Linked DNA regions of Homo sapiens: regions 1, 2, 3, 4 and 6 are each linked to region 5. Evidence: promoter capture Hi-C in 16 types of primary human blood cells and fetal thymus (Javierre and others, 2016). All regions are on one chromosome and are shown on one strand. The core of a region is centred on a gene start or on the middle of the fragment in contact, and the rest is flanking DNA. Distances in the headings are between cores, read along the strand shown.

Region 1 (3,812 bases), core at 305-2,804, 380 kb after region 5:
GTACAGGTAAGAAAGGTTCTGCCTGGTATAGGTAAGAATGTCCGCCCTGTGGCCAGAACAGGATGCTCTGGAGGAGAGGGGCTTGGTCTTAACTGGGTCAGAGCCAGGTTAGGAAATGGACCAGCAGCCCAGGGGGCCAGTCCACAAGGACCACTACACATCACTGGGATACTTTGGAAATAAGATGTCTATTAACTCAGATTTTTCTTAAACCACAGGTGGAATGCAAATTGGTCCCAATATTGACTAGAAATTATCTTCAGATAGAAGCAAATGGCAGTGTCAGCCAATGCAGACCTACCTCTGGAGAAAATGTTTGCCACTAGCTTTTATAAACTGCAAGATTCAACTATGGAACATGCAAGAATTGCCAACTGACCATCACTTAAAAACAAAATCTGGATAGATAAAATTTTGGAAGTGAGAAATGCATGATATAGTGCTGCTTCCTGGGGGGCCAGTTGTTTTGTTATTTATACTTTGAACCTTTAAAATCTTTTGGCGCAGCATGCTGGCTCATGTCTGTAATCCCAGCACTTTGGGAGGCCAAGACAAGCAAGTAACTTGGTCCCAGAAGCTTGAGACCCACCTGGGCAACATGTGAAACCTTGTCTCTACAGAAAAAACACAAAAATAGTCTGGGTGTGGTGGTACATGCCTATAGTCCCAGCTACTTGGGAGGATGAGGTGGAGGATCATCTGAGCTCCAGAAAGTTGAGGCTGCAGTGAGCTGAGATCTCACCATTGCACTCCAGCCTCGGCAACAGAGTGAGACCCTGTCTCAAAAAACAAACACACAAAACAAAAGAGAGAGAGAGAGAGAGAGAATAAACTTTCTAAGCAGTTGTCTGATTTGTGAAATTGCAAAAAAAAATTTGAAGAGGGGGCACAGAAAAGGAGGAAGTGTTCTTTAGTCAGTGAATAGATGAAAGGAATTTGTATTGAACACACACGTTATTCACTTGAACACATTTGTTCTCTGTCCCCATCGAATACAGGCTGAAGAAATATTTAGAGAATTCTGGCTTGAAAGGGTAAAAAACTAACAACCTGCCCCAGTCAGTCCCCCATGGTTACTGAACTCTGGAAGATTTTGCTGGAGAAGTCTGAGAGTCCAGTTCTACAATTTTACACAATTTGTTAAATGTAAAACATTGCTTTGGCTTCACTTACTGATTTTCCTTTCTCTCCCATTTCTGACTAACTCAAATTTACTGGGTGCCTGCTATATGCCAGGATCCAAATGTTGAACATAACTTATTTTGTTTCATACCCAAGGGGCTGTAAAGGACACACAGACTGTGAGCGCAGACACATTTTAGACTTGCACTGTCCAATACGGTAGCCACTGGCCACATATGGTTATTGAAATTTACATTTATTGTAATTAAGTAAAATTTAAAATTCAATCTCTCAGTTGCACTAGCTATGTATTAAGCACTCAATAGCCACATGTGGTTATGACTATGCTGCTGGACAGCACAGTTATAGAGCATTTCTATCACTGCAGAGAGCACCATTGGATAGCACAGTTTTAGACCTTTCAGAGTTGTCTCTACCTCCTGTGAAATCATTTTAAGCAGAAAAGCTGCCATTCATTGAGCACTCCTCTGGGCCAAGCAAGCAAGATTCTGGGTCAGTTACATAAGATCATCTCACCACAGCTCACTGCCTCACGTCTCAACGCATTTTAATTTTTTTTTTTTTTTTTTTGTAGCGCCGTGGTCTCACTTTGTTGCCCAGGCTAGTATCGAACTCCGGGCTTCGAGCAGTCCTTCTGCCTCAGCCTCCCAAAGTGCTGGGATTACAAGAGTGAGCCATTGGGCCCAGCCTCACCCCATTTTAGAGATGAGGAAACCTGAGGATAGAGAGGCCAAGTAGCTTTCTTACCATCGCACAGCAAGTGAGCGGCAAAGCCCAGGGCGTTTGACTTTAAAGGCTTTGATAATTCTGATGGCCCCACCTTCCAAGGGCATTACCCCCAAGTGTGAGTGAGAGCACCACTGTGGACAAGAAAGAGCCGCTGGGGATCCTGGCCCTTTTGACAGGAAAAGTGGCCATGGGGTCAGACAGGCTAGAGGACCAAGGCTGGTTCTGCCAATGACCATGTCAGTGACATTGCCCAAGCCACTTAGATCTCTGAATATATGTACAGTGGTGGAGCTCACCTTGTAGAGCTATGAGGATTAAATGAGAATATACACATAAGCACTTGGCACAGTATCTGGCACACAGTAGCCATTTAGTACATGGCACACATGAGTATTACTTCCGGAGTGAATCCTTTTCTTCTGTTTAAGCAGCAAACAGCAAGAGTTGCCTTGCTCCCTGCAATACACATTTCTGAGTCTGGCATGCCACCTGCTGGTCACTCCTGGATATACCATCCAGTCCCCTGTTCTCCCCAGAAGGGCCAGTGCCCAGAGTGTTCCCAGGAGACTGGGCTGTAAAACAGGAACATCCTAGCTGAGTATTCAGATTTTTTTTTCGTAAAGTCCCTTTCACATTGTGGCTCCTCTGAGAACTTAGGATAAGCTTAGATCTTGCTAAGTTTGCTGAAATCTTCTTTGTTGCCAGGCAGATAGAGAAGATGGACTTCTTTGGGGCCCTGTGCTCAACGTTAGGCTATGTTGCCAGGGTCTTCTAGCTGCAGGCTATCTAAAAGCACAGGGTCTTTACTATTATGGCTGGCATTCCCTTCGATCTGATGCTGAATATAAGTCCCACCTCTCCACCCCATATCCTATCAATCTAAAAGTCCTGTTGGGTTTTTCTCTGTGAAATATATTTAAAATCTGTCTAAGCCCCTTCATATTCTCTGCCACCATCATCCCTCACCTGGACCACTGCATTAGCCTCCTGATCTTCTTGCATCTCCTCCCTTCCCCCTGTTGTCTATTCTTCACGCAGCAGCTAGAGCTGTGGTCCTACCTGCTGTAGCTATGGAATGCCTTGGGGAACATTCAAGACCTACCAACACCCAGGGGCCAAACCCTGACTAATTAAATCAGAATCTAGGGGTAGTGGGTAGAAGGTCTCTCAACATTCGTAGCTCATGAAAGCTCCTGGATGATTCTTTTTATTTTTATTTTTCGAGACAGAGTCTTGCTCTGTCACCCAGGCTGGAGTGTAGTGGTGCCATCTCGGCTCACTGCAACCTCAACCTCCCAGGTTCTAGCGATTCTCTGGCCTCAGCCTCCCAAGTAGCTGGGACTATGTGTGTGCCACCACACCCAGCTAATTTTTTGTATTTTTAGTAGAGATGGGGTTTCACCATGTTGCTCAGGCTGGTCTCAAACTCCTGACCTCAAGCGATCTACCTGCTTTGGCCTCCCAAAGTTAGATGATTCTTTTGTGCATCCAGGATTGAGAATCACTGAGCTTCCAGTTCAGACCAGCAGTAGCAGCATCTCCTGGAGGGCTTGTTAAAATACAGACCGCTGAGTTCCACTCCCAGAGCCTGTGATTCATCAGGCCAGAAGTGGACCTGCGAATTTCCATGCCTCACAAATTCCCAGGTGACCCTCCTGGGCTGAGGTTCACACTTTGAGAACTACTGTTGTAAAAATATAAGGTGGACCATGAAACTCCTGTTTAAATGACTTATTACACTTATATATGTATATTTTAAAAATTCACCTTCTGTACCATGGCCTGTCAGGCAGGGTGAGACCTATCAATCTAGAAGTCCTGTTGGGTTCCTAGCTCCTGGCCTCTCACACCCTCTGCTAACCACTCACTGGCCTCCTATCTGCCTCTTGACCACCGCAGGTGGTCACCTGAAGACCTTTGAAAGAGCCTTTCTCTGCTCA
Region 2 (3,541 bases), core at 25-2,524, 310 kb after region 5:
GGGAAGTTGGATTGGCTTTATGGGGCCAAAAAAGAAGTCAAGAGTATTGAAAATAGTATCACCAGCTGTGTGACACAAGGCAAGTGACTTAACCTCTCTGTGTCTCAGTTTCCCCACCTATAAAATGGATTTAGCAGTGCCAGCCTCAGAAGGTTGTGGGTCAAGATCAAATTCCGTAATGCAGTAATACAGAACAGTTCTTGACCCATAGTATTCAATGAACAGTTTATAATTTTATTTAGGGCTGGCCATGATCCAGTTGAAAGAAGACTTCAAAATAAAGAAAAGAAAGCTGCTCGAGGAAGAATATCTACACATTGTACACACAGGTGGCATTCAATAAGCATGTGCTTAATGCTTCATTCATTCATTTACTCATTGCTTTGACCCAAATGCCTTAAACAGAACCCTAATTTTATACCCAGGATGGCAATAAATCTAGCTCAACTTCATTTCCTAATATCCCACACAGATGGTCATGTGACCACATTCTAGCCAGTGAGGTATATATAGAAGTCATGGGTGGATCTCCATGAAAGGAAGATGACTCAATTGAAACACTGCTTTCCCCTTTCCTTTTTCCTTTCTTTCTGCCTCAAACACAGTATAGTGATTGTGCAAGGTGGGGGAATGGGAGCTGGGCAGAAAGAAACCCTCTTGTCCCCTTGAGAATGAGAGGACACACTGAGGATGGATGAGCAGAGAGAGAAGCATGGGTTCCAGAGGAGGCATCAAGCTCGCATACAACTCCTGAATGCTCAACTGGCTGGGCGAGGTGGTTCATACCTGCAATCCTACCACTTTGGGAGGCTGAGGCTGGTAGATGACTTGAGCCCAGGAATTCAAGACCAGCCTGGGCAATATCACCAAATCTTGTCTCTACAAAAAATACAAAAATTAGCCTGGTGTGGTGGTGCACGCCTGTAGTCCCGCCTATTAATACTTGGAAGGCTGAGGTGGGAGGATCACCTGAGTCCAGGAAGTCGAGGCTGCAGTCACACCACTGCACTCTAGCCTGAGTGACAGAGTGAGACCCTGCCTCAAAAACAAACAAACAAACACACACACACACACACACACAACTAATTGCCATTTAAGCTACCCTTTGTTTTGAGAAGGTAGGGGTCTGTGTCACTGTAGCCAATAACTATACCGTGTTTATTTTACAATGTAGTGTCTATACCTGGTCATGTTTTTCTCATGGCTTCAACTACCAATCCTCAACTGTTGTCTTAGTCTGGTTTTTGGTGCAATAACAGAATACCTGAGGTGGTAATGATAAAGAACAGAAATTTAATTCCTTACAGCTCTGGAGATTTGAAAGTCTAAGATCAAGGCACTGGCATCTGGTGAGGGAGGGAGAGGGAGCACACATGAGCAACAGGGGGCCCAACTCCTCCTTTTATAAGGAACACTCTCCTGAGAGACGGCATTAGTCCTCTCACGAGGACAGAGCTCTCATGATCAAATCACCTCTCATTAGGCCTCACCTCCCAATACTGTTGCATAGGGGATTAAATTTCCAACACAGGCTTTTGGGGGGACACATTCAAACCATAGCAACTACCTTAACACTAAGGACTCTAATATTTTTATCTCAGGCCCTAGTCATAGTCTTAAACTAATCTAAGATAGGCCAGAATATCTCAATCAGAATGTCTACAAGTCACTCAACCCCATCTTATTCAAATTAGACTCTCTTTCCCCTCCCCACATCTTCTCTCCTCCTCTTCCTATCTTTCTTGTTTGAGGTATTCAGCATCACTCAGCTTCCCAATGGAGAACTTTTTCCTCTCTTTCAATCCTTCAATCGTGAATCAGTCACTGAATTTTCAGGATTCTTATCCTGAAACGGCTCACAGATTCAAGCCTCACACTGCTCCAGACTGGGCTATAAGAGGGGACAAGGGGTCAGGGGAAAGGGCAGATTCCAACAAAGGCCTTCACGGTGCTGTATTTTCCACCAAGAGCTCCGGATCATCATTTTTCTGGAGCTGACATTGGTGCCTGAGGCATGACTTTCAGTAAAGAGCAATACAACTGCCTCACGACATGTTTCACAACATTCAGCCTCTACGGTCAAAGCAAAGTAGGTAATTAGTACAATTATCCAGTCCATTGAGTCTGATATATTTTTCTATTCTGAATTCCCTGGGTGCTTGATGGCAGCCTTGACACATGGCCATGTATTTTAGGGAGTATTTTGGAGGTACTTACATCCTCCCCTCCCCAACCAGAGGAATTCATATAACTGGTAAATTAATGGTATAGTTTGAAAACATAGTTTTTCTGTTTCAATCTCACTCACTTTGAGTGAAATGGGATGATCTCGGCTCACTGCAACCTCCACCTCCCGAGTTCAAGCTATCCTCCCACCTCAGCCTTCCAAGTAGCTGGGATTACAGGTGTGCACAACCATGCCCAGGTAATTTTTGTATTTTTAGTAGAGACAGGGCTTCACCATGTTGGCCAGGCTGGTCTTGAACTCCTGACCTCAAGTGATCCGCCTGCCTCAGCCTCCCAAGGTGCTAGGATTACAGGCGTGAGCCACGGTGCCCAGCCTCAATTCATACTTTATCCCACCAGGATGAAATAAAAATTCAAAAGATTTATCGAAGGTCCAGTAAGGTTAGCCATCAAGAGAACCAGTAACAGCACAGTTTATCAGGCAATGAAGAGGGACTTTCCACGATGCAGATAATACTGCTCCTGCTGCCATCTTTTCAAGATACCAACCAGCGTCTGGTACTAGACTTGCATTTGGGAATAACATCAATCCATCTCAGCTGATTTCCTCTGTGATAACTTCATGACTATTTATGTGAAACTTCAAAGGCTAAGAAATGCTAAATAAACATGGAGACAAGTTGCCGAAATGTTAAACATTTGCCCCGGCTGACCTCACAAGATTTTGCTTGGGGAATTCTTCTAAGTCCATGTAAATTATCACTGGAAACCAAATGTGATGATAACATCTTTTAAAAAAAAATTTCATCCTAGGCCAGACTGAGGAAACTTACAAACCCAACACAAGATTATTTTTAGAATGTTGGCTACTGCAGAGAAAGAGAGAAGAAGAAAACAAGAATATGATTAGAAAATAGAAAAATAAAACTTAGATCACTTTTTCTCCAAAAACCGTCCTGACTTTTTCTATTCTAGCTTGGGAACTTTGGGTGTTAAAAAAAATCTAATTAAAAATCACTGCTGCTATTTTAGTTTAAGTGAAAGTAATACGCCTTTAAATTTTTTTAGATGAATACATTTCATTTTTCAGGGCTAATCTTTCATAGTATTTTAAATTGAATATCTTACTGTGAGTTTTTCATTTTCTACATGGATGATGTTAAAATGGCTTTCTCAAATACCACTTTTTTCTTTTAATTTTAAGTAGCTAGCACAGGTGTGAGCACCAGGACAAGAAAAAAAAAAAATCACAACCTTTAAGAAACAAAATATGCAGGGCTCTTTTCATGGAATCCATACCTACTGTCACGAAAAACAAAAACTGAAAGTGAACTAATTGTTCAGTGAGAGTCGA
Region 3 (3,766 bases), core at 1,040-3,539, 350 kb after region 5:
TGAGTAAGATTTTTATGGTTGCCCATTTACAGATGAGGAAGCTGACACACAGAGAAATTAAGTCATCAGGTTTAGCTCATGAAGAGACTAAAATTCTAAGTGTGATGGCATAATTCACTATAAGTCACTGGTGCATGAAGCAGTATTGTTTAATATCCCCCAACATGGTAATCAGGGAAGAACTTAGCCATAGACATTATCAGAGGGAGGGAACTAGAGTAGGGCATGGGGAAAAAAAATACATACCTGAGTTGGTAGTTGATGGGATTTGTTTGTGAACACCTATGACACATGTTAGGGGTGGGGAGATGGCAAGAAGAATGAGGAGCAAATGTGTAAACCATGTAGGGGTCTGTGGTCTTGCAATGGCAGATGGGGAAGTCATTATTGTGATGAACACAAGGCTTATTAATGTGCAACAGTGCCCAATTTTAACCCTTTCCTGTCATTTTCAATAAAGGGAATTTTGTCTTTGATATCTGCTTCTCCTTTCCCCAGTTTCTGGCTTAAAAAAATGCAAAATCAGGATGTTGGGCAAAAAGAAACAGGCCCAGGTAGAACGGAAGAAAGGAGGAAAGATTTTTGTTAGACATTTCATGGGCTCTCCTTTGTTGTGAAAAGTCTGGGTAATGGGCAAGGCAGAGAGAGGGATGAAGGCAGTCAGACAGGCAAAATCAACCTAAATACTGTATTGCTGAGAGAGAACAGAGGTCAAAGACAGAGAGCTTGAAAAGGCAAGTGGGCTGCTCTTGGAGATGTTTGGGTTTGGGGTGGTGAATGAGAAGCTTTGGTATAATTGAGAAAATCAAGAAAGAAAGAGAAAAGGATTTTGAGAAATGCTACCATGGGTTATCAGTTGGGCCCCTTATAACGTTCTCTGGGTATTGCAGGTAAAGTTTCCATTGTAATTATTTTCGCTTTGGAAGATGTGGCTCTACGCAGAGATTGGACTACATGGGGCCTTGCGATTTATTTGGGTTACACTAACAAAATGTCTCCATTTTTTGCTCCCTGAATTGGAGGAATCTAGAGTATATGAAAAAAAAAAAAAGAATTACAATAGGCACAGCAGTCCGAGAATGGAAAAGCCTAGCTCTTGAGGAAGAGAATTTTCCATCTCTGCAAGTGTTCAAGTAATCACCTATTGTGACATTGAGGAGGGAATGCAGGAGCTGTAGGGAAGTGGGTTCCTCAACCTGGCTGAGCATCAAAAGAATCACAGCTTTCACAACCCACAGCCCCAGGCCCCTTCTATTTCTGTCATGTTGTGGAGCACTGACCTTTTACAAAAGCTCTCCAGGGGATTCAGAGCTTTGGGAACCAATGATGCCAAGAGCTGGGCAACGTGATCTCTACTGCTGCTTCCAAGCCTGACAGCATTATCCTCCACGAACCTCTCCTTTGTAAAAGCATAACATCATAGGAGTATTTAGCCAAAGCACATTCTGTTAAAAGGGAAGTGTGCTTAAAGGATCTCTCAAATAAGTAAAGAGAAATAGAAGGAACAAAGTCACTGTGAAGTTACATCCTGCTTCTTTTTGGGTCTCCTTGGATGATATTTTAGACACATTAAACTAGTCCACTGATTTATTTATTTTAAGGGCTTTTTTTTTTCCAGGGCTTTGGGGCTCCACGCTTTCTCTGCATTCACTCCTAAAACTCCTTTAATGAGAAAATAGTGCCAGGTGGAAAAACAAAAATAGAGAAGAGGTTCTCAGACCAGTCACAAAAATTATTCTAGAATCCAGGTAATTGTGGTTGAGAGCTGTATCTGGAAAACGGTGAGTAAATTACACTTTTGTAAATGCAGCCATATGTGGAAAGCTGTGAGGCAGCTCCTTATGAAAAAGGCTAAGTTAGAGGAAACTTTCTATAAACCGAGTGGATATCAAGATTTTTATCTTTAAGGTTTTCCCCTGAATTGCAAAAGTAATATGTCTATTTTAGAAAATATGGGACACACACTTAGAAAAACAGAAAAAAAAACTTAAAGTACACATAATTCCATCACTGCAAGAAAACAATTTTAAATATTTTGGGGTATAGCCTTCCAGATGAACACATATATACACACATATATACCTATAAATATGTACATGTAATAAACCTTTTTCAAAAAATTGGGATCCAACTATACCTATTTCTTTGCAACCTGCTTTTTCCCCCCACTTCATCTGTCATGATTATTTTCTCACACCACAAATACTTTTCCACAGCAGTTTCCAAAGGCTGCATAAAATTCTATCCCATTAAACCCCATTGTTGGACATTGAGGTTGTTTCTAATTTTTGACATGATAAATAATGCTTCTCATCTGCATCAGTATTATTTTAGATGAAGACACACGCGGATATACCCAGCGATGCCAAATAAAACAGTGCCATTGCTAAATGTGATCTCATGTTTTATGCATTCTAAAATATTGAAGCTGTGGTTTGGGAACTGGTTAACTGTGGCTCCAGTGTGCGAATATACCACTTCTTCTGGGGCTGAGCTGCGGCCAGCCAGGTCACCTAGGGGGGTGGGGGTCAGGAGATAAGCACCTCCCCTCAGGTGCTCCAATTCCTTGGGCTCAGAAAATCTCTCTCTGTCCTTCCAATAATAATATTCAAGGGAAAGAAATGAGGGAAAAAATTTGATGGCTTCTGTTTCAGGTTGAATTATGCCACCCCCACCCCTCCCCCCGCAAATTCATATGCTCAAGTCCTAATCCCTGATATCTCAGAACGTGACTGTATCTGGAAATAGAATCTTTAAAGGGGTAAGTAAGATAAACATAGGTCATTCAGGTGGCTCCTTACCTAATATAGCTGGTGTTCTTATAAGAAAAGATCAGGACACAGACACACAAATACACACACACACACACACAGGGAAGACCATATGAAGACACAGGGAGAAGACAGTCAACTGCAAGCCAGGGGGAGAGGCCTCAGAAGAAACCAGCCTTGATCTTGGACTTCCAGCCTGCAGAATTAGGAGAAAATAAATGTCTGTTTTTTAAACCACCCAGTCTGTGGTACTTGGTTATGACAGCCCTAGCAAACTAAGACAGCTTCCTAACACATCTTCAGAGAAATGTTTCAGGTAAGTCAGAGTCCTAAGAGCAGGCAGCTGGAGAGTTAGAGTCAGAGAGAAGGGACTTGAAATGGAGGGTCTAGGACTCAGGAGTCACCTGATCTTCAGCATGCCCCTGCATGCTGAAATTTTTGGCTACGTATTACATATTGGCTACATAGTCAATACAGCTAATATGTGGCCAAAAATTTTAGCATCCCTGCCTCAGCATCCTCATCTTTATAGTAGAGACCAAACTCTTGTGATAAATAACACCCACTGTATTAGTCCGTTTTCAAGCTGCTGATAAAGAGATACCTGAGACTGGGAAGAAAAAGAGGTTTAATGGACTCACAGTTCCACATATCTGCGGAGGCCTCACAATCACGGCAGAAAGGCCAAAGGCACTTTGTACATGATGTTGGCAAGAGACAATGAGAGCCAAGCCACAGCAGAAGCCCCTTATAAAAACATCAGATCTCATGAGACTTATTCACTATCATGAGAATAATACGTGAGAAACTGCCCCCATGATTCGATTATCTCCCACCAAGTCCCTCCCATAACATGTGGGGATTATGGGAGCTACAATTCAAGATGAGATTTGGGTGGGGACACAGTGAAACCATATCACCCACCTTTTGGAGGATTCTGAGGATGCCAGACGTGAAAAGTGCCTGGCACAGTGCTTGGTATGTAGGAGGCATGG
Region 4 (3,473 bases), core at 791-3,290, 290 kb after region 5:
GGACAAATGTGTTCTATGTGTGATTCAGTTCTGTACCACAGAGAATTGATCCAACTCAGATGCCTCAGAAACACGGATTCTCTAATGAACTTAACTTTTCTAGAAAATGAATTTCTTAATGAAAACTCTCTCCAGTTTCCTCACTCTCTTTTACCTGTGTCTGGACATCTGGTCACAGGCTAGGTGTTTTCAGTGTCTAAATTATATTCCTCATAGATAGGCATGGATTAGTTACCTCTAAATGATTCCTCTTGCAAATCTATGCCTGTGAAGTTGGCAGCCTGGGGTGATAATTAAAATATTTAGTAACAAGCACCAAGAAATCAGAAGAGAGGTCTATGTAAATTAAGGGACTAGACTTTCTTCTTGCACACTGGTTATCAGCTATAGGAGTGGCACCCTTTGGTTAAAAGGCAAGATGTGGAATGTGGAGCCACTGGACAGTGGAAGGCAAGGGCTCAGGGAAGTCACATGCTCAAAGGAAACATCCATGGGCATATGATGGCATATTATGGTAACCAACTCACTGTCCAATGGGAGGACCACTCAGATGAAGAGTGAGGTCACTGAGCCACAAAATAAAGCTGAGTCATTTGGAACTTTTGGGTCTATACTGATTTATTAAAAGCATCTCAGGTAGGGTGAACAGGATCCCTTTTACTTGAGTGGCAGAAGAAATAAAAATTGAATGATGAAGGTCACCATAATTCATTAAGAACACTTAAACCTAACCCTTATTATACACTACCTTAAGTGACCTTCCCCAAAACCTTTTGAAGTAGGAATTATTTTCCCATTTCACGGATGAGAAAGTCAAGACCCAGAAAGCAAAATATCTTTCCTGAAGCCACAATATAAATAAGCAACAGTGTCTGAAATTAGAGTCCAGATACAGTCTGTGGTCTTTTATGAGTGGTGAAAAGAAAGGAAAGAAATGGAGAAAGAAACAGGAGAAATAAGGAAAAGAAACCAAGGAGGTATTCTATAATGTGCTATACCTGTTTGGAAAGTAAGCAAAATTATAAGGAATAAGAGAAGTAAAGTAAGGCTTTCTCCTCTATTTTCACTCCCAGGGGAATTCTCTTCTTTTTTTCCCAAAGCCAATGGCAGCTACACTTTCCTCACCAAGTTCTCCCAGCTCTAGGTCCACAAACCAAGGCAGATCTGTACCTTCTCAGAATTCCTTGAAGGCCCGAAGTCTGTGTCACATAAACTAGGTTTTGTCAAAATCTCACCCACCATTCAAACGCCACCTACTTCTTAGTGTCTCTCCTTAGATGTCCTCTTCTCTGCCCACTCTGTGCCATTTTATGGCCCCCTCCGCCTTTCCCAGCTGCAGTACCCTCACTCCCACTGGGACTTTGTCTTTCTCATGGTGACGTTTCCGCTGAATGCTGGCAGATGGATTCTCTTTGGGGGAAATTATGTCTGTAAGCATAATGTATCGTATCAAAGTATAAATGCTATCAGCATCATCACCACCACCACTGACTTAGTATCAGCCTCGTACAGTGTGCCAGGCACTATGCCACATCCTTTAGGCCTGGTTGAATAATCTTCATTCCAACCCTATGAAGCAATGACTATTATTACTGCCTTTTACACATGTGAAAACTAAAGCTTCAAAAGATTACATAGCTTGTCTGGTATCACACATGTCTCTTTCTCTTTTCGCAGTCCACGGAGAGCAAACTAGCAACCTGTAAATACTTAGTGGAACATAATTCATTCATCCATTTGCTCATTTGTTGGTTCACCCATTCATTACATGCCAGACAGTTGATAAACAAAATAAGAATAAGTCCCACCCACTGCCCTCTAAGCAATCATAGTCAAGTGGGAGTTTGACTTTCCCCCAAACAAGCACTTAGTAGAAGGTGCAATAATGGGGGAGGTTCAGGTCCCTAAACAGCTCAGGGACCAGGCATCCCAAAGGAGGTAGATTCAGGTGGTCATGAGTGTTTTCCCTGCTAAAGTCCCTGGCAATGGGGTCTTCTGGTGAATGTCCCCAGTTTGTAGAATACTCAGGGCAAGAATGACTTGCCCTTTGGTACTATCCTGTGTCCTCAGCAGCAGAGCACACAAGAAGTCCACATCACTCCTGTACCAGCCACTGTCACCTCCAAGAGTTTGCTTTGTAGTGATCTGAGGGCCCAAGCTCTCACTATTCTACGCAATTATAAGTAGAATCCTGCAGAGAAACAAAGTCCCCTTCCTTATTTTTACAGAGGATTGTTTGTGGCACTTACAAGCAGCTTCAAATGAGTACACAGGTTTTATTTCCCTACAGACTTTAACAACATCCTGCCATGAGATGAAAATCTGGTAGGCACTCCTGAAAATCTGCCAGCTTGCAGCTACATTCCCTTTAAGGCTTAAACATATTTGGAAAATAAATTTTTTTAAACATTTTTTTAAAAATTCAATACTTCTGCTGTAGAAAAATTGACCACCAGAAATCAAGCTTCCAAACCTGGTTTTATGAGTTACCTGTGGCATAACCATGCCAGATGCAAGACCTTTGCAGCAATTATTTTCCATGCATCTACAGAGTTCAGCCTATCTAGGCTGCATGCCCTCACACACCTGGGGGTTGGCTGACTACGGCTCAGTCTGGCCGGTCTACTCTGCTCTACTGCGTGTGCCTCTCATTCTTTCCCTGGAATGGTCAGCTCACTAGGCACATCTTTCTTGTGATGATGGGGGAGTGGAAGAGCGAGAGCAGAAGTATGTCTGCACTTCCTCAAGCCTCTGTTTGCCTCAGGTTTGCTGATATCCTATTGACCAAAGCAGTCCCATGGCCATGGGTGAGCTCGGAGTCAGAGTGGGAGGGCAACACAAATAGCATGGACAGGAGGAGCAAGGAAGAATCAGGGTGACTGATGTAATAAGAGACCATGCTAGTCCTGGTAAATTAGAGAGACAGTGGCCATATGCTCTAAAACCCACAGTAGGCTCGACTAGGATTTTTATGTTCTTCCAGCTGAAAAACACATCCTGGGAAGAGCAGTCTAGATGGCAAAAGGTGGACATTTCTGAGATGTGTTGCTGGTGTATTCCAGTTGATACATGAGTCACGTGGAAAAATACAGTCAGCCATTCGTATCCGTGGGTTCCATATCTATGGATTCAACCAACTAAGGATCAAAAACTTTTTTTTAAAAAAACCCAATAAAGGCCAGCATGGTGCCTCACGCCTGTAATCCCAGCATTTTGGGAGGCCGAGGCGTGCAGATCATCTGAAGTCAGGGGTTTGAGACCAGCCTGGCCAACACGGTGAAACCCCGTCTCTACTAAAAATACAAAAATTAGCTGGGCACAGTGGTAGGCGCCTATAATCCCAACTACTCTGGAGGCTAAGCCAGGAGAATTGCTTGAACCAGGAGGCAGAGTTTGCAGCGAGCCGAGACTGCGTTATTGCACTCCAGCCTTGAAGAGTGGAACTTTGTCTCAAAAAACAAAACAAAACAAAA
Region 5 (3,956 bases), core at 1,361-3,860:
ATTTTCCACTCATTACATATTGCAAGGATCAGCAATTTGCCATTCCTGGTCATAGACAACATGCCTTTGGATTGCAATGGCCCATTATCACCCCTGCTACTGATTATTCCTGTCTCCTACTGGGGCCTCCAACTTCCTCTTCCGTGACAAAACCTAAAGCAGTGTTACGAGCACTTTGCAAAATTACTTGGCAATATTTACTAAAGCTAAATACACATATACGTATATGAATTATAAATAAAGCCGCTCTGAATATCCTTGGCCATTTTTTGTGGACTTATGAATTTCTGTTGGGTGTACGACCAAGAGTAGAAATTCCACAATTCTCCATCTTCACTCTTGATTATATATTCATCAGAAGTTAGTAAGAAGGTCCAAGAAATGGACAAGGGTACTCAGAGAAGCTTTCTTGTAATAGCCCAGAAACGGAAACAACTCAAATGTCAATTATCAGGAAAATGGATAAATATATTGTGGTTTTTTCTACCATTCCCCACTAAAAGGAATCCAGGCTCTTTAGAAAGATGGCCAATTCCAGGATAAAGGCAAGGAAATTAAAAGAACCAGGATCTTGTTATGCCATAAAGTGAGAAAGTATTAAAAATAAGATATGGCAGGGGTTTGTCAGAAGGACACAGGGCCTAACTTGAAGGGGCCCCCACTGGCCAAATCTGAACAATTTGAGCACTCAAATATTTAAGTGAAGTAATGATTTATAAACCACTGAAACAAATAGGAATTCACAAGTCCATGCTGATAGCAGATAAATAAAAACATAAATAAATACACAAACAGGGAAAAGAGAGGGCTCTATGTATAGTGGAATGCCAACCGCTGTCAGTAGAGTAAGTTCACAAGAAGGAAGGGGGTGCCAGATTTGGAAAGTCATTTTATAACCATTGGAGGTAGAGTGCTTCACACAAGAATCAAAAAGTGTGCTAAATTTAGGGGGTAAAATTTGATGGGGGAGAGCATTGTTTTAAAGTGTTTCCCTACACATTGCTTATTAGTTGCAAGGGAAGAATTAGTAACTAAACAAAGGTAAAATCAGACAACACCTTGACCTTAAGTTCAAACTTAACATCCCTGGTGAGATGCAACTGCACCCTGCATGCCTCCAGTTGAGATGTACTCAGAAGGGCACACTATCCCTTATGTAGTATTCCAGTCAAGAATGTATTACCCGAATGCATTCAGGAGGAAACATTAGACAGATGCCAAAAGGAGGGACATTTGTTATGAAAAAAGGGACTGTAGTCTTAAGACCAGACAAGACTGAGAGAATGTTCTAGATGAAAGGGTACGAGGGAAACATGGCAATTACATATAATACCTGATCCTGGACTGGAACCTGCTCTTTAGGGAAACTAAATGCTATAAAGTAGGGGTTCCCAGACCTCAGGCTACAGACTGGTTAGGAGCAGGGCCACACAGAAGGAGGTGAGTGGTCAGTAAGGGAAGCTTCATCTGCATGTACAGCCACTCCCCATTGCTCCAACTACTGCCTGACCTCTGCCTCCTGACAGATCAGCAGCAGCATTAGACTCTCATAGGAGTGTAAACCCTGTTGTGAACTGCTCATGCAGGATCTAGGTTGTGTGCTCCTTACGAGAATCTCATGCCTGATGATCCATAACTGTCTCCCATTACCCCTAGATGGGACTGTCTAGTTGCAGGAAAACAAGCTCAGGTCTCCCACTGACTCTACCTTAAAGTGAGTTGTGTAATTATTTCAGTATATATTACAATGTAGTAATAATAGAAATAAAGTACATAATAAATGTAATGCACTTGAACCATCCCAAAGCCATCCCCACCCCCTGGCCCCAGTCTGTGGAAAAATTATCTTCCATAAAACCGGTCCCTGGTGCCAAAAAGGTTGGGGACTGCCTCTATAAAGGATAACTTTTGGTCAACTGAAAAAAAAATGGAACATGGGCAATAGATAAAAGTATTATGCTAAATTTACTGTGGTCAATTAATAATGGTGATAATGTGGGAGAAGATCTTTACTCTTGGGAAATATATATGGAAGGATATGGTGGTAAATGGCCCAGATGGATGCAATTTGCTCTCAAATGGTTTATAAATAAAATGTGTGTGTGTGTGCGTGTGTGTGCATGCATGTGAACATGAAAGAACAAATGTGGCAAAAGGTTAACAATGGATCAATCTACGTAAAGAGTACATTACAGGTGTTGTTTGTTCTATTTTTATAACTTTTTTTAAGTCTGAAATTATTTCCAAATAAAAAGTTTCTTTAACATTAGAATATATTCATCTGATATGATGGTTTTTAATTCTGAAGGAAATTTGGAAACATCTGGACACATTTTTGGTTGTCACTATTAGGATGGGATTCTCCTGGCGTCTAGTAGGTAGAGGCCAGAGATGTTGCTAAACATCCTACAGTGTGAAGGATGGCTTCCTTGCCTCCACACAGAATTTTCCAAACCAAACTGTCAACAGTCTCAGAAGAAACCCTGATAAAATGGAATATTACACAATAATGAGAACGAATAACTACACCCAAGAACATGGATGTATCTCATAGAAAATGCTTGGACATGCAAAAAGAATATGTGCTGTATGATTCCATTTATATGAAGTTCAAGAACAGGCTGAGGCTATCTATAGTGATACAGGTCAGGGCAGTGGGAGGAGGGGGTATGAAGAAGGCTTCTAGGGCACTGCAATTGTTCTATAACTAAATCTGGATGGTGGCTGTAAAACAATACACATGTGTAAAAATTCACTGAGATGTAGTTTTAATATTGGTTTGCTTTATTCTGTGTAAATTATATCTCAATAAAATGGAGTAAAAGTAAAGCAACGTTTGGCCAGGTGTGGTGGCTCATGCCTGTAATCCCAGCACTTTGGGAGGCCAAGGAGGGTGGACTGCTTGAGCTCAGGAGTTCAAGACAAACCTGGGCAACATGGTGAAACCCTGTCTCTACTAAAAATACAAAAATTAGCTGGGCATGGTGGTGCGTGCCTGTAGTCCCAGCTACTTGGGAGACTGAGGTGGCAGTATCACCTGAGCCCAGGAGGTGGAGGCTGCAGTGAGCCGAGATTGTGCAACTGTGCTCCAGCCTGGGCAACAGAGCGAGCCCCTGTCTCCAAAAAATAAACAAATAAATAAATAAAAAATAAAACAATGTTTGTTAAAGGGTCAAATTTTAACATTGGATATGCCTATAAAGAAATTAATCAGCTAAATATCATATACTCCAGTAATTTTTTGTTTCAATTTCGTTCCTGGGATAACTGTCAGGGCAATAGCAGCTGGGGCCTCCAATCGCTTGCTTACTCTGCTGCTTATCTCTTACATACAAATCATAAAAGCCGATTTACAACAGCCTAATCACTTCCAGAGCCTCCCCAATATGAAAGCAGAGAGGAGAGGATAACAACCTAAGATGATGAATGAGTGGTTTGAGTGGATGAACTCTAGTAAGAAAGGAAAGAAAACATCTTCAAACTCATGTCTAGAAACAAAAGGTGGACACAATGATCTTTGCAGGGCTTTCCAACCTAGCTCTTGAGTAGAATTAGGGTCAGCATAAATAACTTAGCAAATACTATTAATTCCCCAGCATGCTGTTTTCCCGAACCTGTCTTTCATAAGCCCAGAAGTGAAATGTTTTTGAGAGCATCCTGCTTGTGAACAGATTCCTATTTCCGTGAGGAGGTGACCTCGAAGAAGAGCAGCTTCTATTCTGCTGGGAGGTGTACTGCCTTCTGGTATCAGGCTTCTGCATCCCGGGAAAGCTCGGGATAACCTGAGGCACCCCCTTGAAAAACAAAAGAGCTTGATCAGAGCAGGAGGGTCCTGTTGCACAAGCCCAGCATCTACTATCAGTTTCACCTAAATGTAAGCCATTCATTCCCCTGGACTATGTGTGGGTGGGACTGGAAATACTACCTGCTCACTCTAGAGAGGAGAAATGCCTCTC
Region 6 (3,761 bases), core at 366-2,865, 340 kb after region 5:
ACATTACATGCATTCCCTCACCACAACCTCACGAGACAAGCAGTAGTATCCCCATTTCTCTGATGAGAAAAATCAAGGCTCAAAAATATTAACTCATTTGCCCAAGGCCATTCAGCTAGTAAGAGACAAAGCCAAATCTACAATTCCAACAATGTCTTCAAAGCCAGTCCCTTTAACCACTCGGCTATAATCCTTTCATTTAAACCCTTACAAGCTTCATAGAAGTTTCTGTGACACTGGCTAGAAATATACATTTCCCCCAGAGATCGTTCCCCATGACTCTCCCATACACAGGCAGGTTCAACCCCTTTGATCTCAAAAAGCGCAAGATCTGGAAGTCATTCCCATTAGGGAATGCTTCCTCTCTCCATAGGGAAATCCCTCTGGGGTACTCATTAATCACATGGTTAAAGGATAACCTTTGAGTTTTTTGAACCAAGAAACCACGAAATAACAAATTTATTAGGCTCTCACTCATCCCAACAACCTTAAACTACAGAGGCATTAGGACGAATGACAACCTTTCAACAGAATGTGGGTATCGCTTTCATGGTTAAAAACAAATAAAATTTATTTTGAACAAAAGATGACTGACATCAGTGCTCTGTGTTTTCTCAGTAGTCATCAAGCACAAATTGTCACTCGGGGTGATTAAACAAGGATTAATTACCAGGTTGCTATACAAGTTGAGATGTTTCAAAGTTGCAGCCCAAAGAGCACATAAATGTACTCAAATTTTTAAAAGAATACGGGTGCAAATTGGCACCATCTTTTCAGAGGACAATTTGTCAAGAGCGCTTAAAATTTTAAATGTTAACCTCCTCCCACCTAGTAAGTCCAATTATACCACAGAAGCATAAAATTGGGTAAAAACACACAGGCATGTTGTAGCATGAGAAAAGCTATCATTATATGATATATAATTAGGAACAATGGAAAACAACCAACGTGGTCATGAAGGGAGAAATTTTGACTCAATCATAATCCATAGAATGGATTCGGAAAACTAATAAATACATTAGATGTTTTTGGCTTTTATATACTGACATGGAAAAATGTCCAGAAAGTATTTCTAAGTACGAAAAAAGTAAGCTATAAAAGGCAATATGTAGAATGTGTATTTTCTGTTAAAGCAATATTAATAAATAATCTGAATGAACCTAAGGAAATAATATCAGCCTATAAACAACATATATCTTTAGCTTAGGGGTGAGCAAACTGATTCTGTATAGAGCCAGATAGTAAATACTTTCAGTTTTGCAGGCCATAAGGGCTGTCTCAACTACTCTGCTACTGCAAAAGCAGCCTCAGATGTTACTAAATGAACAGGCATGGCTGTGTTCCAATGAAACTTTATTTATGGACTCTGAAATTGAAATTTTGTATCATTTTTACATGCTACAAAAATGTTACTCTTCTTTTGATTTTTTTTTTCAACGATTTAAAAATATGAAAACCCTTCTTAGCTAGCAGGCCATACAAATCAGGTAGCAGGCTAATTTTGTCCCACAGGCTGCAGCTTGCCAACCCCTGGTCTAGAAGGTATGAAAAAGAAGGGGTTCCTCCTCTATGATATGTATTTTTTAATTTCTGCACATGTGTGAGATATTTTAATATCTTTTAAAATAGTTATGTCTATTTCCAAAAACAAGTAATAATACAGATATACTGGCATAAACTGATATATTTCCTGTAGAGAAAAAAACCCTGTAAGGTATTTCAACTTCTATCAGGGGTATTATTAAATGCCAATGACATAAAGTGAGCCAACCTGCAACCTTCTTATCAGCTAAGTATCTTTCCCTGCCTTGATGTTAGGAATAACTCAATCTATGCTTCCCCCCACCCCCACCCCCTAAAACGCCTTTCCTTGTTTTCCATTTCTTGGCATGTCAGTGACTGAGGCAGAGTGTTTTTCCTCTCCAAGCAAAATAATCAGTGGGAACCCATTTCTTAGCCAAATTACAATCCATTAAAGGAAACCAGGCCGGCATCACCCCGAATTGCTGCCTCAGTCATCAATCAACACAATCGCCCAGGCAACTAAGGAGGGAGGCTTTTCAAGTCGCAGTCTTGGCTAGCCCAGTGAGTGCTGCCTCTGCAGCAACTGCATCCCGGCCAAAGCATCCCGGCTGGAAAGGCAGCCGTTGTCTGGAGACAAACAACTCTGCATAATTATAATGATCTCACAACACTACCCCTGCACTGGGCATTCCATGTCAGTTGCCCATGAAAGTGGGACTCCAGGAGGCTTGTTAGGAAAGCCCATCTTTTAATGCTCAAGTTGAATCTACATTTATCAGCAAAGCTGAAACGTTAAAGGGATTACAAGGGGCTTAGAATCCACTGGAGGTTCATTGATCTTGTCTTGCAAGGCTCATCTCCACACGCCCTTTAGAAAATGCTTTGGTCTGTTCCCTAGCTCTTTGGTTGCCTTTGATTTTACCACCATTCTCATCTGAGTTGGAGGGGGTGTTTCCTCTAGCCCTGATTCCAAAAGATTCTCAGATCCCTATATTCTAAACTAAGAGAAGCTATTTGCATGTTCCCCTAGGTAGTGATACAGACCAGGGGTCAGCAAATATTTTCTGTAAAGATCCAGATACTAAATATTTTAGGTTTTCTGGGCTATACAATCTCGGCTGCAGCTACTTAAGTCTGCCACTGCAGCACGAAAACCTGCTCATTCAGGATTTGCAAGCTCCAATCACTTCCAGTCCCTGACAGGTAACCTAAATATCTGAGCCACAGATAAGATGTAAGTAAATGAGTATGACTTTGTTCAGATAACACTTTTTTCTGGGTACCAAAATCTGAATTTCATGTAATTTTCATATGTTGTGAAATATTACATTCTTCTTTTGATTTTTTCCCCAACCATCTAAAAATGTAACTCATGAGCCATACAAAACAGGAAAAGGGTCACATTGGGCCAGCAGGCTGTATTTTACTGACACCAGTCTAGAGCTTTGCTATTCAAAGTGTGGTCCCTCAACCAGCTTCACAGCATCATCTTAAAGCTTGGTAGAAATGTAAAATCTCAGGCCCCACCTCAAATCTGTAGAATCAGAATCTGAATTTTGAACAAGAGCCCTCAGTAATTTGTATGCAAGTTTCAGAAGTCCCGGCCCAGAACACAGACTTCTGAAGTCAGATAGGGACAAAATACCATTAAGCAGTTGGCTGTGTAACCACAGGCAAATTACTTAACTCCTCTGAGACTCAGTTTCCTTACCTGTTAAAATGGATGTAAATAACTGCACTTACCTTCTAGGGCTGTCATGAATGATAAGGTGGAAAAGATGTAAAACACTTTCCTGGCATTGTCAAGCTTTAAAATGGTAGCTGATAGAGAAGCTTACTTTCTCTTTGGGGGAGATGAGATTGCTCATTCAGGATTTGCAAGCTTCAATCACTTCCAGTCCCTGACAGGTAACCTAAATATTTGAAGAGTTCCCTGAACTCAACTAGATTGCTGGAGAGGATGGTGAACTGAGGTCACGCCCATCTAAGGGGCAACTACTCAGCTCCTGCCAGATACTGTCGGAAATGCAGGAAAGTAGCCCTAATGTTACCTGGTCTTTGGATTTTTCAACAGAAGCCGGAAACCTGGGTTTATGTTAGAAAAAGCCTCCTTCTTTAATATGTTGCATGGATCAAACGAAACCTATCTGCAAGCTGGATTTGACTCAAGGGCTTCCAGTTTGTGAGCACTGCTTTAGAGCAAGTAACAAGAGGCAGTGACTCACAAGAAAATGAGC

The links. Contacts are between HindIII fragments. The CHiCAGO score rates a contact against its expected background, and 5 or more counts as called.
Region 1: a fragment that was not itself captured here is called in contact with the fragment with the promoter of PRICKLE2-AS2 in region 5 in 2 of 17 cell types (endothelial precursors and megakaryocytes); the score reaches 7.6 in endothelial precursors.
Region 2: a fragment that was not itself captured here is called in contact with the fragment with the promoter of PRICKLE2-AS2 in region 5 in 1 of 17 cell types (megakaryocytes); the score reaches 6.3 in megakaryocytes.
Region 3: a fragment that was not itself captured here is called in contact with the fragment with the promoter of PRICKLE2-AS2 in region 5 in 1 of 17 cell types (naive B cells); the score reaches 5.0 in naive B cells.
Region 4: a fragment that was not itself captured here is called in contact with the fragment with the promoter of PRICKLE2-AS2 in region 5 in 2 of 17 cell types (megakaryocytes and endothelial precursors); the score reaches 9.3 in megakaryocytes.
Region 6: a contact is called between a fragment that was not itself captured here and the fragment with the promoter of PRICKLE2-AS2 in region 5, in 1 of 17 cell types (megakaryocytes). The highest score is 5.1, in megakaryocytes.

Annotation. Positions count from the first base shown.
Region 1 is chr3:64,482,233-64,486,044 of GRCh38, forward strand. The region is part of intron 3 of LOC105377123 (a long non-coding RNA gene); the gene reads right to left. Among named protein-coding and RNA genes, the nearest start is that of PRICKLE2-DT, 39 kb to the left of the region's middle. The HindIII fragment of the contact is 1,958 bases long and covers 576-2,533 here.
Region 2 is chr3:64,408,433-64,411,973 of GRCh38, forward strand. No RefSeq gene overlaps it. Among named protein-coding and RNA genes, the nearest start is that of PRICKLE2-DT, 35 kb to the right of the region's middle. The HindIII fragment of the contact is 5,040 bases long and covers 1-3,541 here.
Region 3 is chr3:64,455,595-64,459,360 of GRCh38, forward strand. LOC105377123 (a long non-coding RNA gene) reads right to left here. Exons shown (of 8, transcript XR_940913.3): 6 at 3,696-3,766; 7 at 1,281-1,399. It overlaps PRICKLE2-DT (PRICKLE2 divergent transcript), which reads left to right. Exons shown (of 4, transcript NR_183714.1): 4 at 1-476. Among named protein-coding and RNA genes, the nearest start is that of PRICKLE2-DT, 12 kb to the left of the region's middle. The HindIII fragment of the contact is 3,013 bases long and covers 784-3,766 here.
Region 4 is chr3:64,390,641-64,394,113 of GRCh38, forward strand. No RefSeq gene overlaps it. Among named protein-coding and RNA genes, the nearest start is that of PRICKLE2-DT, 53 kb to the right of the region's middle. The HindIII fragment of the contact is 844 bases long and covers 1,619-2,462 here.
Region 5 is chr3:64,100,860-64,104,815 of GRCh38, forward strand. It overlaps PRICKLE2-AS2 (PRICKLE2 antisense RNA 2), which reads left to right and starts at 2,611. Exons shown (of 4, transcript NR_046701.1): 1 at 2,611-2,645; 2 at 3,634-3,874. The region is part of intron 7 of PRICKLE2 (prickle planar cell polarity protein 2); the gene reads right to left. It overlaps PRICKLE2-AS1 (PRICKLE2 antisense RNA 1), which reads left to right. Exons shown (of 3, transcript NR_045697.1): 3 at 1-2,272. The HindIII fragment of the contact is 2,788 bases long and covers 1,460-3,956 here.
Region 6 is chr3:64,436,945-64,440,705 of GRCh38, forward strand. No RefSeq gene overlaps it. Among named protein-coding and RNA genes, the nearest start is that of PRICKLE2-DT, 6.4 kb to the right of the region's middle. The HindIII fragment of the contact is 2,806 bases long and covers 213-3,018 here.